Regions from separate parts of the Homo sapiens genome. Here all the other regions are linked to region 3. The links are contacts of gene promoters, found by promoter capture Hi-C in human tissues and cell types (Jung and others, 2019). All regions are on one chromosome and are shown on one strand. Each heading gives the region's core, a stretch centred on a gene start or on the middle of the fragment in contact. The rest is flanking DNA. Distances are from core to core; before and after follow the strand shown.

The links. Contacts are between HindIII fragments. The study calls those that stand out against the background at their distance.
Region 1: a fragment that was not itself captured here is called in contact with the fragment with the promoter of ZNF621 in region 3 in 1 of the 25 tissues and cell types used here (dorsolateral prefrontal cortex).
Region 2: a contact is called between a fragment that was not itself captured here and the fragment with the promoter of ZNF621 in region 3, in 1 of the 25 tissues and cell types used here (dorsolateral prefrontal cortex).

The regions. Positions count from the first base shown.
Region 1 is chr3:41,723,383-41,727,715 of GRCh38, reverse strand. The region is part of intron 22 of ULK4 (unc-51 like kinase 4); the gene reads left to right. Among named protein-coding and RNA genes, the nearest start is that of ULK4, 240 kb to the left of the region's middle. The HindIII fragment of the contact is 3,183 bases long and covers 1,263-4,333 here.
Region 2 is chr3:42,052,868-42,057,558 of GRCh38, reverse strand. It overlaps a transcript of TRAK1 not described here. Among named protein-coding and RNA genes, the nearest start is that of TRAK1, 36 kb to the left of the region's middle. RefSeq lists an enhancer at 1-36. The HindIII fragment of the contact is 4,689 bases long and covers 55-4,691 here.
Region 3 is chr3:40,521,773-40,526,341 of GRCh38, reverse strand. ZNF621 (zinc finger protein 621) reads right to left here and starts at 1,382. Exons shown (of 5, transcript NM_198484.5): 1 at 1,068-1,382; 2 at 478-563. The coding sequence starts at 501. RefSeq lists enhancers at 901-1,040, 600-1,412, 1,691-1,780 and a silencer at 1,341-1,500. The HindIII fragment of the contact is 18,179 bases long and covers 1-4,569 here.

The DNA.
Region 1 (4,333 bases), core at 1,605-4,104, 1.2 Mb before region 3:
CTCTTTCTCCTTGAGAGTAAAGTTCAAGCTTCTTACCATGGCATACAATCCCTTACATGGTTTGGAGCCTGGTTACCTCTCTGATCTTTTCTTACACTGTGCTGTAGCTACACAAGTACACAGCAAGCATGTGTTTGCCTTTGGGATGTTGCATGTGGCTTAACAGTTTTCTGGAATGTTTTGTCCACATTGCACGCTTGCTTTACCCCTTCTGGTCTCTGCTTCAATGACATCCTGTCGAGAGGTTTTCTCTGGCAAGTGACTAGTTTTCTTACTCTTTAATTTTCTCCATAGTACTTGTCACCACCTAAGCTATTTTCTGGTTGCTTGTTTGCTGTCTGTTTCATTGGACTTGAATATACACTCCATAGGTTGTATCTACATCAACTAGAAAAATACTTAGCACATAGTAGACACGGTAAATAGTTATTGAATGAATAAACTGATGTCATCATCCTTGTACTCATTGAACTCATTTTGCTGTAGACATTGTACTGGTGTAGATATTAGGCATAGGACTTGCTGAGTTTGGCCTTAGAATCACAGAGGTATAGCAGGAGGTCTTAATAGAAGGCCGATCAGAGTTACGTAAAGGTGGATGTGTGTGCAATGCGCATAGGATTCCTGTGGTGATGAGAGTAAGAAAATTGTGGTCAGATTAGAGGGAATGAATCAGAGAGATAAATGGAGAGAAATGCAGGGGTTTGAGTGACAGTAGTTTGGGAAATGGGTATGTCCTGGGGAGAAATAATACTGTTAAAGATAGTTGGCTAGGCACAGTGACTCATGCCTGTAATCCCAGCACTTTGGGAGGCAGAAGTGGGCAGATCATTTTAGGTCAGGAGTTCAAGATCAGCCTGGCCAACATGGTGAAACCCCATTTCTATTAAAAATATAAAAATTAAATGAAACAAATAAACAAAACAAAAATACAAAAATTAGCCTGGCGTGGTGGCGCATACTTGTAATCAGAGCTACAAGGTGATCCAGGAGAATCACTTGAACCCAGGAGGCGGAGGTTGCAGTGAGCTGAGATCATGCCACTGCATTCCAGCCTGGGTGATGGAGTAAGACTCTGTCTCAAAAAAATTAGTAAGGGACACAAAGGAGAATTGATCTGACCTTGTTTATTTGCAGTTTATTTGGATTTCTTTTCAGTGTGTTATCTTTTTAACTTGATATACCCTTGTAGAACACTGAGAAATATCATTTGCTGCTTTTCGTAGAACGCTTGTGAAGTATTTGTGGGACACTATGCTCAAATGTTTCCACATTTTGTCTCCTTTATAGATGTGAATTCTTTTAGAAAATAATGTTCTCTTGTCAGTAAAGTCAGTTTATTCTACTGTAGCTGTGAAAACACATCTTGTAATGGGGAGGCATTGGGGAGAGCATGAAGAAATGGAGCATCATTCTAGAGTTAGTTTTAAACTGTTATGGATCCCATTAGTTTTTTATTTCTCCCAGCAGATGTAATGGATATTTTCTTATGTATTAACAGTCTGTACTAGTGTTTGAAAATGATTTGAATAGTTTTTTGCCTTAAGTGAAAGATATTTCAAACCATGGTAGTTAAGCAACACATTATCAAATTTTATAATGGATAATTTAAACTTTAGAGAAAAATTTATTCCTTATAGACAAGTGTGAATTTGCTTTTTTTATACTCTGTAAATTTGGAGAGGATTTCATTTGGATTCCTTGACTGCCAAAAGATAACCATTTCTATTTTCTCTGTTTTCTGTTTCTGGGGTAGCTGTTACTGATATAGAGGATTTCCCAAAACAGGGAGAGAAGCTCATTTTTGAATCATCTCAGTCTCTGTTTGGATTAAGATGATCTAGATTGTTTGGTGTTTTAGCTGCCTTCCAGAAGCAAATGCAAATCCTGTCTGAAGAAGTTTAACCGTAACCCTAGGCCTCAGAGTATCTCCGTAGTTTTCAGGTATAGAGTCTAATACTCAATAGAAAGTAGTCAGGCCTATGAGGAGACAAGATGATATGAATAAAAGCAATAAAATCAACAAGAGAGACAGTATCCATAGGGAATACAGACAATAGAGTTATCAGATACAGACTTTAAAATAACTGTGATTAATATAGTCAAGGAATTTGAAAGATTAAGGGTTTCAGTGGAGAACTAGAACTATTAAAAAAACCCAAATGGATATTCTAGAACTGAAAAATACAATAATTGAAAGTAACAAGTCAGTGGATTTGGCTAACAGATTAGACTCTCTGAAGCAGAGAAATGCTATCTGGGAGAAGTCTGAGATCAGTGTAGAGAGACAAAAGTATAGAAGACATGAAGAATAGTGGGAGAGATATAGAGGAAAACAGAAAATTGTGGGTTTTATAATAAACGATAATAGATAATTTAGATATCAATATAGGAAAGAAATAAAAACTTTTACTCCTAAGCTGTACTGTACCAAAGATCAATACAGGTAGATTTTATGATTTTCTGTTTAAATTTGTAAAGGTAAAGCAGTAAAGCTTCTGGTAGATAGCATATGAAAATATCTTCATGACTTTTGTGTAGACTGAAATTTTTTTTAACAGAACACAAAAGCATTGTCAGAAAGGAAAATATTGATAAATTAGGCTACCTTAAAATTATGGTTCATTCAAAGACATTAAAAGAGTAAAAAGGTAAGCCACAGAGTAAGAGACATTCATAATCAACATATATAATCAACAGTGGTCTCTTAACAGAAATATGTACAGACTTACTTCATCAAGGAAAAGAGGACAGATAACCCAATAGAAAAATGAGCACAAGACTTGGACAAACAGTTTACAAAACTGGTTATCTCCAGATGGTCAATTAACACCTGAAAAGATGCTTAACCTAATTAGTCATCAGGAAAATTTAGTTTAATCACAATGAGTTACCAACATATACCCACTAGAATGGCTGTGATTAAAAAGCCTGATAATGTAGGGTTTTGGCAAAGATATAGAAAAACTGGAATTTTTTTTTTGTTTTGTTTTGAGACAGAGTCTCACTCTGTCGCCCAGGCTGGCGTGCAGTGGTGCAATCTTGGCTCACTGCAAGCTCTGCCTCCCGGGTTCACGCCATTCTCCTGCCTCAGCCTCCCGAGTAGCTGGGACTACAGGCGCCTGCCACCACGCCCGGCTAATTTTTTGTATTTTTAGTAGAGACGGGTTTCACTGTGTTAGCCAGGATGGTCTCGATCTCCTGACCTCATGATCCACCCGCCTCGGCCTCCCAAAGTGCTGGGATTACAGATGTGAGCCACCGCGCCTGGCTGAAAAACTGGAATTCTTATATCTACCTGTTGGAGTATAAATTGACATAATGATCACTTTAGAAAACTGATCATCAGTGTCTATGAAACTGAATCGAGGCATGCTTTGTGACCCAGCAAATTTACTTCCAAGGATACAGATATATCCAATAGAAATGTTTATGTGCATCCAGCATAAGTTATGCTTAGCCCTATTCATTAATTGAAATAGCCCAAATGTTCATCCACAACAAAACGAGTAAGTAAATTATGGTATATTCACATACCGGAACACTACACAGCAATGAAAAAGAATGTGGATGAATACCAGCAGACATAAATGTAGAACAGATAAGTCAGGCTTTCAGCTATTTGGTAATGTTTGATCTCCTTATGATTAAGAGTTGAGGGAATGACAGCCTATTTTAGAAGTTCTCAGTGTGTTGGTGAATTTTGACTTTGAGCTTTACATTAAGATCATCTGTACAGGCATTTTTAATGTGAACTTTAGCATGAATGTCTCTGGCTATTTCTCTTGGGCTATTTAGTTTTGCCAAAGAAGAGCACATGCAGAGTGTTCCAGTCACATGCTCGGAAGGAAACGACTGGGCTACCAGAGTCCCAGGCGCCCACTGGGCTAAGGGAGATGAAGTTTCAGTATTTACTGTGCATAAATTTACTTAGTCCCCTGTTTGCAGTTTGGTAGTCCTCTCTTAATCTTGGTCTGCTATTTCTCAGTCCAGATGGTTTTTATTTTCTCTAGAGAATAAATGTTTAAACTTTTGCCTGAGTGCAAGCCTAGTGGCAGTTACCTACATATATTGGCCAGAGGAGGTAATGTAAGGTTCAAACTGCTTTTTAATCAGATTTTGCCAAATATTTGATCTTTTACCCCTCTTTCCTCACTGTTGGTTTTAGAAGTACCTTTTCAATAAATAGTACCAGACAAGTGCTCGTCCACTTGGAAAAACAATGAAATTAGATTCCCACCTCAACCCACATGATCAGTCAATTTCTAGTGGATTGAGGACTTCAATGTGAAAGACAAGAGGAGGAGGAGAAACAAGAAGGAAGAAAGAGGAT
Region 2 (4,691 bases), core at 1,150-3,649, 1.5 Mb before region 3:
AACTACAGCAAAGGGAATGGGGCCACTGTGATTGGCCTGGACCAATCAATACCCACTGGACGCCTCCTCAACCCCTACTCCAGCATGCTGCAAAGGAGGCTTAAGAATGGAATGAAATCTGGATTCTATTAGGAAAGAAGAAAGTGTGGCAGAGATGGATGTGAATTGGCAATCAATTTCTGTTACTCCCATCATTCACCCTTCATTCCTTCCCTTCTTCCTTCATTCAAGAAGCAGGACCGTGAACCTACTGTCAGTCTTTGTGGAGAAAACAATTGCACAAAACTGGATTCCAGCCCTCCAGGAGCTCATGGTCCATCCATATTTACATAAGAATATTCCATTTTCCTTGGTATCCAAAGTAGCACTGGACAGCCCAGGTGGTCTAAACAGCAAAGAGTAATTTAGAGTGCCTTTAATTACTGCACCTTAAAATGCACCAGTGTCCTAGTTCCCATCTTCATGATCACTGCCAGCCAGGAGGTTGCTGGATCTCAATCGGCCAAAGTGGCAGAAGGTGCCCTTCACCAGGTCCCTGTTCTATTCATGGCAGCTGTGCACGGCTCAGGTTACAGGTTGGTTCAAATCCACAGAAAACTGGCTCCTCTAACTGAGGCAATTTTGGTACTTTACTTTGTCTCTCACACAAGATTTTTATTTTTAAAATCCTAATATTGGAAATAGAAATGTTGAGCTAAAAGGTATTAAGAAGGATGTAGAATAGCCTATTATTACAATCGGGGCAGAAAAAAGGACTGTGAATTCAAAAATATACAAGCACTCAATATTGTATCCTAACATGGCATACATTTAAAGGTTAAGATATGAAAAATGCATACTTTTATGTTGCACTTGGGACAATATTAAAAAGTGGAAATTTTAACCTTTCTTCTAGATTTCTGGGTAAACAAAAGAATGTTTTTAATTTCAAAATTTCTAATAATTCTCCAGGGTAAAATAATCTCTTTAATAATCAGCTAATAACTTTGCTCAATATAATTTTAAAATCAATTATATAAAATATTTCTGCTTCTGTTGAAATGTTTTTAACATCTGTTATCCAATAATTATTTCAATAATAATTTCAAAAGTCAACAAGCACATGAAAAAATGCTCAACATCATTAACCATCAGGAAAATGCAAATCAAAACCATAATGAGATACCACTTCATACCCACAAGGATTTCTATAATCAAAAAGACAGATAATAACAAGCATTGGCAAGGACATGGACAAACCAGAACCCTCACTCACTGCTGGTGGGAATGTAAAATAGCGCAGCCACTTTGGAAAACAGTCTGGCAATTTATCAAAATGTTAAATACAGAGTTACCACATGATCTAGCAATTCCTCTCATAGGTATCAACATAAAGAAATGAAAACAAATGTCCACAATAAAAAAAAGTCTACAGATGTTCACAGCAACATTATTCACAATAGCCAAAAAGTGGAAATAATCCAAAAGTTTACCAACTAATGAAAGGATAAACTAAATATTAAAAATACATAACAATGGAATATTATACAGCAATAATAAGGAATGAAGTACTGATACCTACTACAACATGGGTGAACTCTGAAAACGTTATGCTAAGTGAAAAAAGCCAGTCACAAAGGACTACATATTGTATGATTCCATGTATAACAAATGTCCAAAAGAGGAAAGTCTATACAAACATAAAGTAGATTAGTAGTTGCCTGGGGCTAGAGGATTGGGGGAAATGGGGAGTAACTGCTAATGGATACAGGGTTTCTTTTGCGGGTGAAGAAAGTGTTCTAAAATTTATTGTGGATGGCCGGGCACAGTGGCTCACATCTATAATCTCAGCACTTTGGCAGGCGAGGAAGGAGGATCGCTTGAAGCCAGGAGTTCAAGACCAGCCTTGGCAACATAAGGAGACTCCATCTTTACAAAAAAATTAAAAAATTAGCAGAGCATGGTGGCACACGCCTGTGATCTCAGCTACTCAGGAAGCTGATATGGGAGGATTGCCTGGGCCCAGGAGGTCGAGGCTGCAGTAAGCCATGATCACACCATTGCATTCCAGCTTGGGCAACAGAGCAAGAGAACCTGTCTCAACAAATAAGATTTGCTGTGGTGATGTTGCACAACTCTGTAAACACTGAAAACCATTGAATTCCATACTTTAGATGTGACAACTGAATGGTATGTTAATCATATCTCAATAAAGCTGTTATTTTAACAAAGCTTTTTAAAAAGTCTATGGGAGAGAGTTTTATAAAGAGAGAGAGTTTTACGGGCAGTTTCTTTGGGGTGTCAGAACTATTTTGTATCCTTGGGGTGGTTACATGACTCTATACATGTGTTAAAATTCAGGCTGGGTGCAGTGGCTCACTCTTGTAATCCCAGCACTTTGGGAGGCCAAGGAGGACAGACCACTTGAGGTCAGGAGTTTGAGGCCAGCCTGGCCAACATGGCGAAACCCTGTCTCTACTAAAAATACAAAAATTAGCTGGGTATGATGGCACATGCCTGTAAATCCAGCTACTATGGAGGCTGAGACAGGAGAATTTCCTGAACCTGGAAGGCAGAGATTGCAGTAAGCCAGATCGCGCCACTGTATTCCAGCCTGGGTGACAGAGTGAGACTCTGTCTCAAAAAAAAAAAAAAAAAAAAAAAAAAAAAAAAAATCTAGTTTGCTGTAGATCATTTACAAATTAAAAAAAAATTTAAGTCTACAGCTTTGGGCATACACAGCTGTATTATTAACAAAAGTTCAGAGATAATCATGGCAATGGTTAGTTTGTAAAATGGAAAATGATTCAACTTTCACTGACTTAGTTATGTTTGCTTCAGGGAATAAAAAAGTTATTTCCACTTTTCACCATACATACAATTTCTACTATATATAAAATAACTTCAAAAATATTTCTACCATGCTGGGAACAAGTACGATGGTGGTAAAAGAGGAGAAGGCTGTTTTTATAGAAAACAGCTGAGTCTTCCAATGGAATGAATGCTTCTTCCAGGCACCAGGCTAGGTAGAAATGTGAAGTCCTTGGTTCTTGGTCTGGCTATATAACTGATTTGCTGGTGAGGTGACCTGGGGTGAGTTATTTATGATTCTCCTGCTTAAACTCACCTACGGCTTCCTATCATTGCTAAAATAAAACCCAAGCTCCTGATTCTGGCTTGCAAGGCTCTCAAGGTGCACCCTGTACCTGCCTCTCCTTGCCTCTGCCTACCAGGCTGGGGCACCAGATGAGGAAGGACAGCAGGGTGGACCATGAAACCAGCCAGGCCTGACTCTCCAGCCAAAGGGGGTGCTGAAGGAGGTCACTCACTTCAAAAGTATTTATTGATTATGTTGACAAAGTGCTTAGCACAGTACTTAGCACATAAGGAGCCCTGAATATTTCGTTATTCAGGTAAATAATGAAATTCATTTTTCATTGAGTATGCACAGATACATACTCAAATGTTAGCTTGCTTTATAAGGACAGGTCGCTGTCTACCCTGAATCCTCAACACCCCAGTGGTAATTAGCAGGTGCTCACTAAATCTACTGACTCCACGATGTTGGTCTTAGGAAACAGGGAAGATTCAGGGAGAGTCAGAGTGTTTAGAGAAATTCCAATTAAACTCAAAAGAGACCTTTGTGCATCCAAGTATCTTTTGTCACAGCTTAAGCAAGCATCAGAGTAGGGCAGACTGATTGCAGGGCCAGAGATTTTGGTCCCAATTGTGTGGGATGAGCAGTCAATCCATCAAAGGTAACAGAAAAAGCAAAGGTAGCCCTCGGCACGTGGGGTTTCATTTTCCCTTGGTGAGGGAGGGGAAAGGCGGTATGATGGACTTGGGATACTCCTTCACCCGGGCAGTTCAGGCCTACTCTACTTGACCAGCCCAGGTCAGGCAGGGGCAGCGTGGACTTGGCTCGGGCAGGTCCTGGGTGTGGGTGCCAACCCAGCTTTTGCCAGGTCCTCTGGGCCTAGATCCTGGGGGCGGGGTGAGGAGGCAGTGGCTTCCATAATACTGATTTCTCCAGCCTACACCAGGGTCCAGGAGGAAAGAAGCCCATACCACAGAATGGGGCCCTACACAAAGTATCCCCAGCTCCCCCAAGAAGGCTGACTCCCCACCCCATCCCCAGAACAGTCATTTGCCCTAAGGGTCCTCTTTTACCCTCCCCCTTTGCCATCCCCCGCCCCCCCCCCCCACCCGACTCTGAATGGGACTGCAGTCTTTTCTCTCTGAGTGCCTTTTTTTCTGGAGGCAGGGAGGGGGAGGCGGTCCATTATCCACCTTTTCTTTTTCTTCACACGGAAAATGAGCTCGGCTATCACACTACACGAACTGTAAACATTAGAGAAAAGTCAGCCAGACAGAGTCCATAAGGTCCACTAGCTTACACAAACGGGAAAGAAAAGACTTCACTGTGTGGGCCACTGCCTGGGAGAAGCAAGATCTCATAAAAACAGCCATTGTTCAGAAGGAAAGAATCAGACAGCTTTAGTCCAGGCAGCACATGAAAAAGCAACATTCAGCCAGCTTGCAGAGTCAGGAAATCTAAATGGCAATGGAGTAGCCCAGTCAGTCAGCTCCCCCTGTCTTTCCCCTTAACAGAGGTCCAAAATGTGCCAGTAGCACCAACAACTCCAAATGCCTTGGGAAAATGACTTCTTCGGGGACTACGCATTCAGCCACCAGTTTTCTCAGAGCTGGGG
Region 3 (4,569 bases), core at 133-2,632:
AAAATTAGCCACACGTGGCGGCGCACATCTGTAATCCCAGCTACTTAGGAGGCTGAGGTATGGGAATCACTTGAACCCAGGAGGCAGAGGCTGCAGTGAGCCGATATCATAGTGCCACTACACTCCAGCTTGGGCGACAGAGTGAGACTCCGTCTCACAAAAAATGAGTCTGATTTCAGTAGGTGACTTTCATTTCTAGAACACGATCTGGATTTCCACATTCAGAAAGAATTTCTTGGTATAGGTCCCCTTTCTTCCATTTAAATCTATACATCCAAACTCATCACTCTCTATACACAAAACTTTCATTTCCCCAGCACATATTTACATCTGCCATAGCCCTGGAGATAGATACAAAGGGGAAAACACAGCTTGGCCAAGTTAGGCCTTCCTCATCCTTTCCTGATTATCTGATAGCTAATGTGAGTAAAAAAACATAAACAAACAAACAAAAAAACTGAAAGAAGCTCAGCTCACCTGAGGCCAAGTTGTTTGGAGCATGGCGGATGTCCCCTGGCTTCATGCACTGTCTTCTGGGTTTGGACAAGCAAGATCCTCAAGAGCTAAGAGAAAAAGAGCCATGAGTGCTAAGGACCCTGTCGTCCACCACCTACAGCAACCTATGGCCCTCCCAGTTTCCACATTTCCAGCACTGGATGCACGGAGATTCTACTAGGACTCCCTCTAATTGTTCTCACGCTGATAGCCCCAAACTTCTTATGAATTGTTCTGCCTAGTCTTCAGGACAATCTTCCACCTGCCTGCTCAGTCCGAAGAGCTTTTTTTGAGCCCATTCGTACGGGTAAACTGAGGGACCCAAGAGCCCTGTCCCTATTGTGTTGGGTCTCTACAAACGTAAAGAGTCTTTACAGAATGCTTACAGGGACGATGACGTGGACCCAAAAGAAAGAACCTCAGGAGAAGAGGGACTGGGGTGGCTGAATGCGGATTAAGGGTAAAATACTCAGCGTCCCAGTGGGTGATGCTGACCGGAGACCCCACCCAACCGTGATCTTAACACTCCACCCAAGAAAACAGGCAACCCCAAACATCAGAAACGTCAGTACCGGGAGCCAGAGGCTGTCAGGGCAAGTTCTTTAGGGCAGAAAAGAGGATCAGGCCTCGGTGGCAAAGGGCTGGACACGGGCTCTAGAAGCCCGAGCAGCCACCTTGACGGCTTCGGCGAGGCCCAGATGCCCACGGTCCGGGTGAAGGAGGGGCGGGCCGCCATTGGGACCAAGTTCAGGGGTAGTGGGGGCTGACGAGCCGCCAGGGGCAGCGAGGAAGCCGGCACCGGGCGGACCTGGCACGTAGAACTCGCTGAAACCCACGCTCTGCAGAACGCCGAGGAGCTGGTCACTAACTAAAGGCCGAGCCGGAAGGGCGAGTGCACGCCCAGGGTCCCTCTAGGCCCCCGGAGGCCGCCATCTCGGTCGCCCCGTGGCCAGACCCGCCCCGCCTTTCATGGCTGGCCCCGCCCTGCGGAAGAGGCGAGGTTGCGGCGACCGGCTGGGCTGAGAGGCCGGCGGCGGGCGTGGAACTGTGGCGCTCTAAGCCCGGCTTTCTCCGGCAGCCGTCGGCATCGCCTCTGGCTGGAGTGTCACGGACTGATACAGCCTGGCTCTACCGAGACCTCGCCCTCTAGGCACAAGTGGGCCCCCAGTTCACGGGCTGCGCCTCAGCTGTTGGCCGCCTTGGCCCCGTGGCTCACCTGAAGCCTGGGCCGTGCAGGTGAGGGGAGAATGGCGCCTGCTTTGTCATCTCTAAGAGGCCCAAGCCCAGGATCTTGCTTGGGTCCTCAGCTGGGCAGTCCTCAGGGAAACCATGGTTTCCACTCGCCGTTTTAGCCCTCTCCCTTCCAAGGACCTAGATGTGCGTAGAACCTTTTAGGACAGATTCATTTAACAACCAAAACACCCGTGGCTACATACAGTTGCTAGGCATCCTGTATACACAGGACATGTCCTATATTAAATGATCTTGTCCTGTGTTGACTTTGGGAGGACACCCTAAATGTCTTATATTTAGCTTTTTCCAATAAATTACAAAAACTCGTAGTTACAGCTATTTTTCTGCTCAGTAACTGGCACTTAAATAAAATGTTAACACCAGCTGAAATATATATATCTCATACTTCCATAAATAATGATCTGGACAGACCTTTATGGTCTGTTCTGTTAGTTGGACTGCAGGAAGAAAAAACAGTGAAGAGGGGAGGCTGCTAATTAAAAGAACTTACTTTTCATATTCAGGAAAGGAAAAGACTGTTTTTTGACCAAAGTCCCAAGTCACTAACAAGTACTTGCCATTAATTTACATAATTTTAGATCAGTACACGTACTCTGAAAATCAACCAGTACACAACAGCCTCACTCCAAGCTTCTGAACATGAGCCAGTCAGTGATAAACACTTCCCGAAGCCAGCCAGTGGCAGCTCTACCCAGCTCATTGGCAAGTACCTCACTACTGTGCCCTTCCTTCTGGACAGGAGCCTTTCTCCAGTATCAAAGTGGTTGCTAAGATGGACAGACTTTGTTTTTTTTTTTTTTGCTTGTTTTTTGTTTGTTTGTTTTTTTGAGACGGAGTCTCGCTCTGTCGCCCAGGCTGGAGTGCAATGGCGCAATCTCGGCTCACTGCAAGCTCTGCCTTCTGGGTTCACGCCATTCTCCTTCCTCAGCCTCCCGAGTAGCTGGGACTACAGGCACCCCGCCACCACGCCCAGCTAATTTTTTGTATTTTTAGTAGAGACGGGTTTTCACCGTGTTAGCCAGGATGGTGTCGATCTCCTGACCTTGTGATCCGTGCACCTCGGCCTCCCAAAGTGCTGGGGATTACAGGCGTGAGCCACCGCGCCCGGCCCAGACTTTGTTTTACTTTAATCACGCTGATAACTTCTCCTGAACACAGTTCCAGATACCAGGCTCCTCACCACCAAGCATTTCCATGCTATAAAGGGGAATTGGTCTCCCACCACTAAAAGATAAAAAATGATCCTGGATATCTAGATATATTGCTTTATTACAGGGGTCCCACTTCTTGGATTTGTTATTCCTTTCTTAAGAATTAGACTGACTTATGAAGTCCTATTATGGAGAGTATCTTAGGTATCTACTGCTGCATAACAAATCACCCTAAAACCTTATGGCTGAAAACAAAACACACTTATTATCTCTTAAAGTTTCTATGAATCAGTGAACATAGTCAGTCAGTCCTAAAAAGAGAAAAAGGAAAAAAAAAAAAGGTTCTGTGGATGAGGAATTCGGGAGTGGCTTGGCTGGATGGTACTGGCTTGGGATCTCTCATGAGGGTCTAGTCAGGTGTCACCTGGGACTGCAGTCACTTGAAAGTTGGACTGAGGCTGGGGATTTGCCTCAAAGGTAACTCACTCACATGGTTGGCACATAGATGCCAGCTATTAGTGTGAAACTTCCCTTCCTGCGCCGGGTGCAGTGGCTCAGACCTGTAATCCCAGCAATTTGGGAGGCCAAGGCAGGCAGATCACCTGAGGTCAGGAGTTTGAGGCCACCCTGGCCAACATGGCGAAACCCTGTCTCTACTAAAAATACAAAAATTAGCTGGGCGTGGTGGCGGGCACCTGTAACCCCAGCTACTTGGGAGGCTGAGGTAGGAGAATCACTTGAACCCAGGAGGCGGAGGTTGCAGTGAGCCAAGATCCCGCCACTGCACTCCAGCCCAGGATATAGAGCAAGACTGTCTCAAAAAAAAAAGAAAAGAAAAGAAAAAGAAGCCTCCCTTCGCACACCGCGTATCTGTACATGGCTGAGTATCCTCACAACACAGGAGCAGACTTCCACTTCCATCTCAGGTGAGTAACCCAAGAGGTCAAGGCAGAAGTGGCAATATCATTTATGTCCTAGCTTTGGAAGTCACACTCTGTCATTTCCTCAATATACTATCATCACAGGCCAGTCATGATTCAGTGTTGGATACACAAGGGTGTGAATGCCAGAATGAGAATCACTGGGGACCATTTTGGGAGCTGGCTAAACACATTTTTTACCTACCACAGAAACAGTCCTTTCTATAATCTATAGTACTTTTATTGTAACATTTATGAAGCACAATTGTTTTAAATAGATGAATTAGATTTCCAAGAACAATAGCATTAGAACATATATTTATACACTGCCCCTTCTCTAAGCCTATCAAAAAGAGTATCTACCATGAATCTAGAGAAATGGACACACATATATTGGTGTACATACATGTACACATTTTTACACCACAAACTCTAGAGTATCAGACAGTTATTACAATTAGTTCTAATTTGAATTAACTAGAGGGAACAAGATTGGACATGTAACTCCTCCATTTGGTATTATGGTGCAGAGAGAAGAGATGAAAGTTTTGGTAGGCAAGACTAAGTGCCTAAAATCCCCAGGTTGGAACCATGACAGGAATCATGAGCAGTCAGAGGAGAAAATTGGGACCATGCTACAAGAGGCCCATTCTTTTCCAGAACAGCCTCAACAGAAGCAAACTATAGGCAGTGCTGCCTAGAGGAAGCTAAAGGGCAAAAGTGAACCAAAAGATATGGGAAACTTCAGA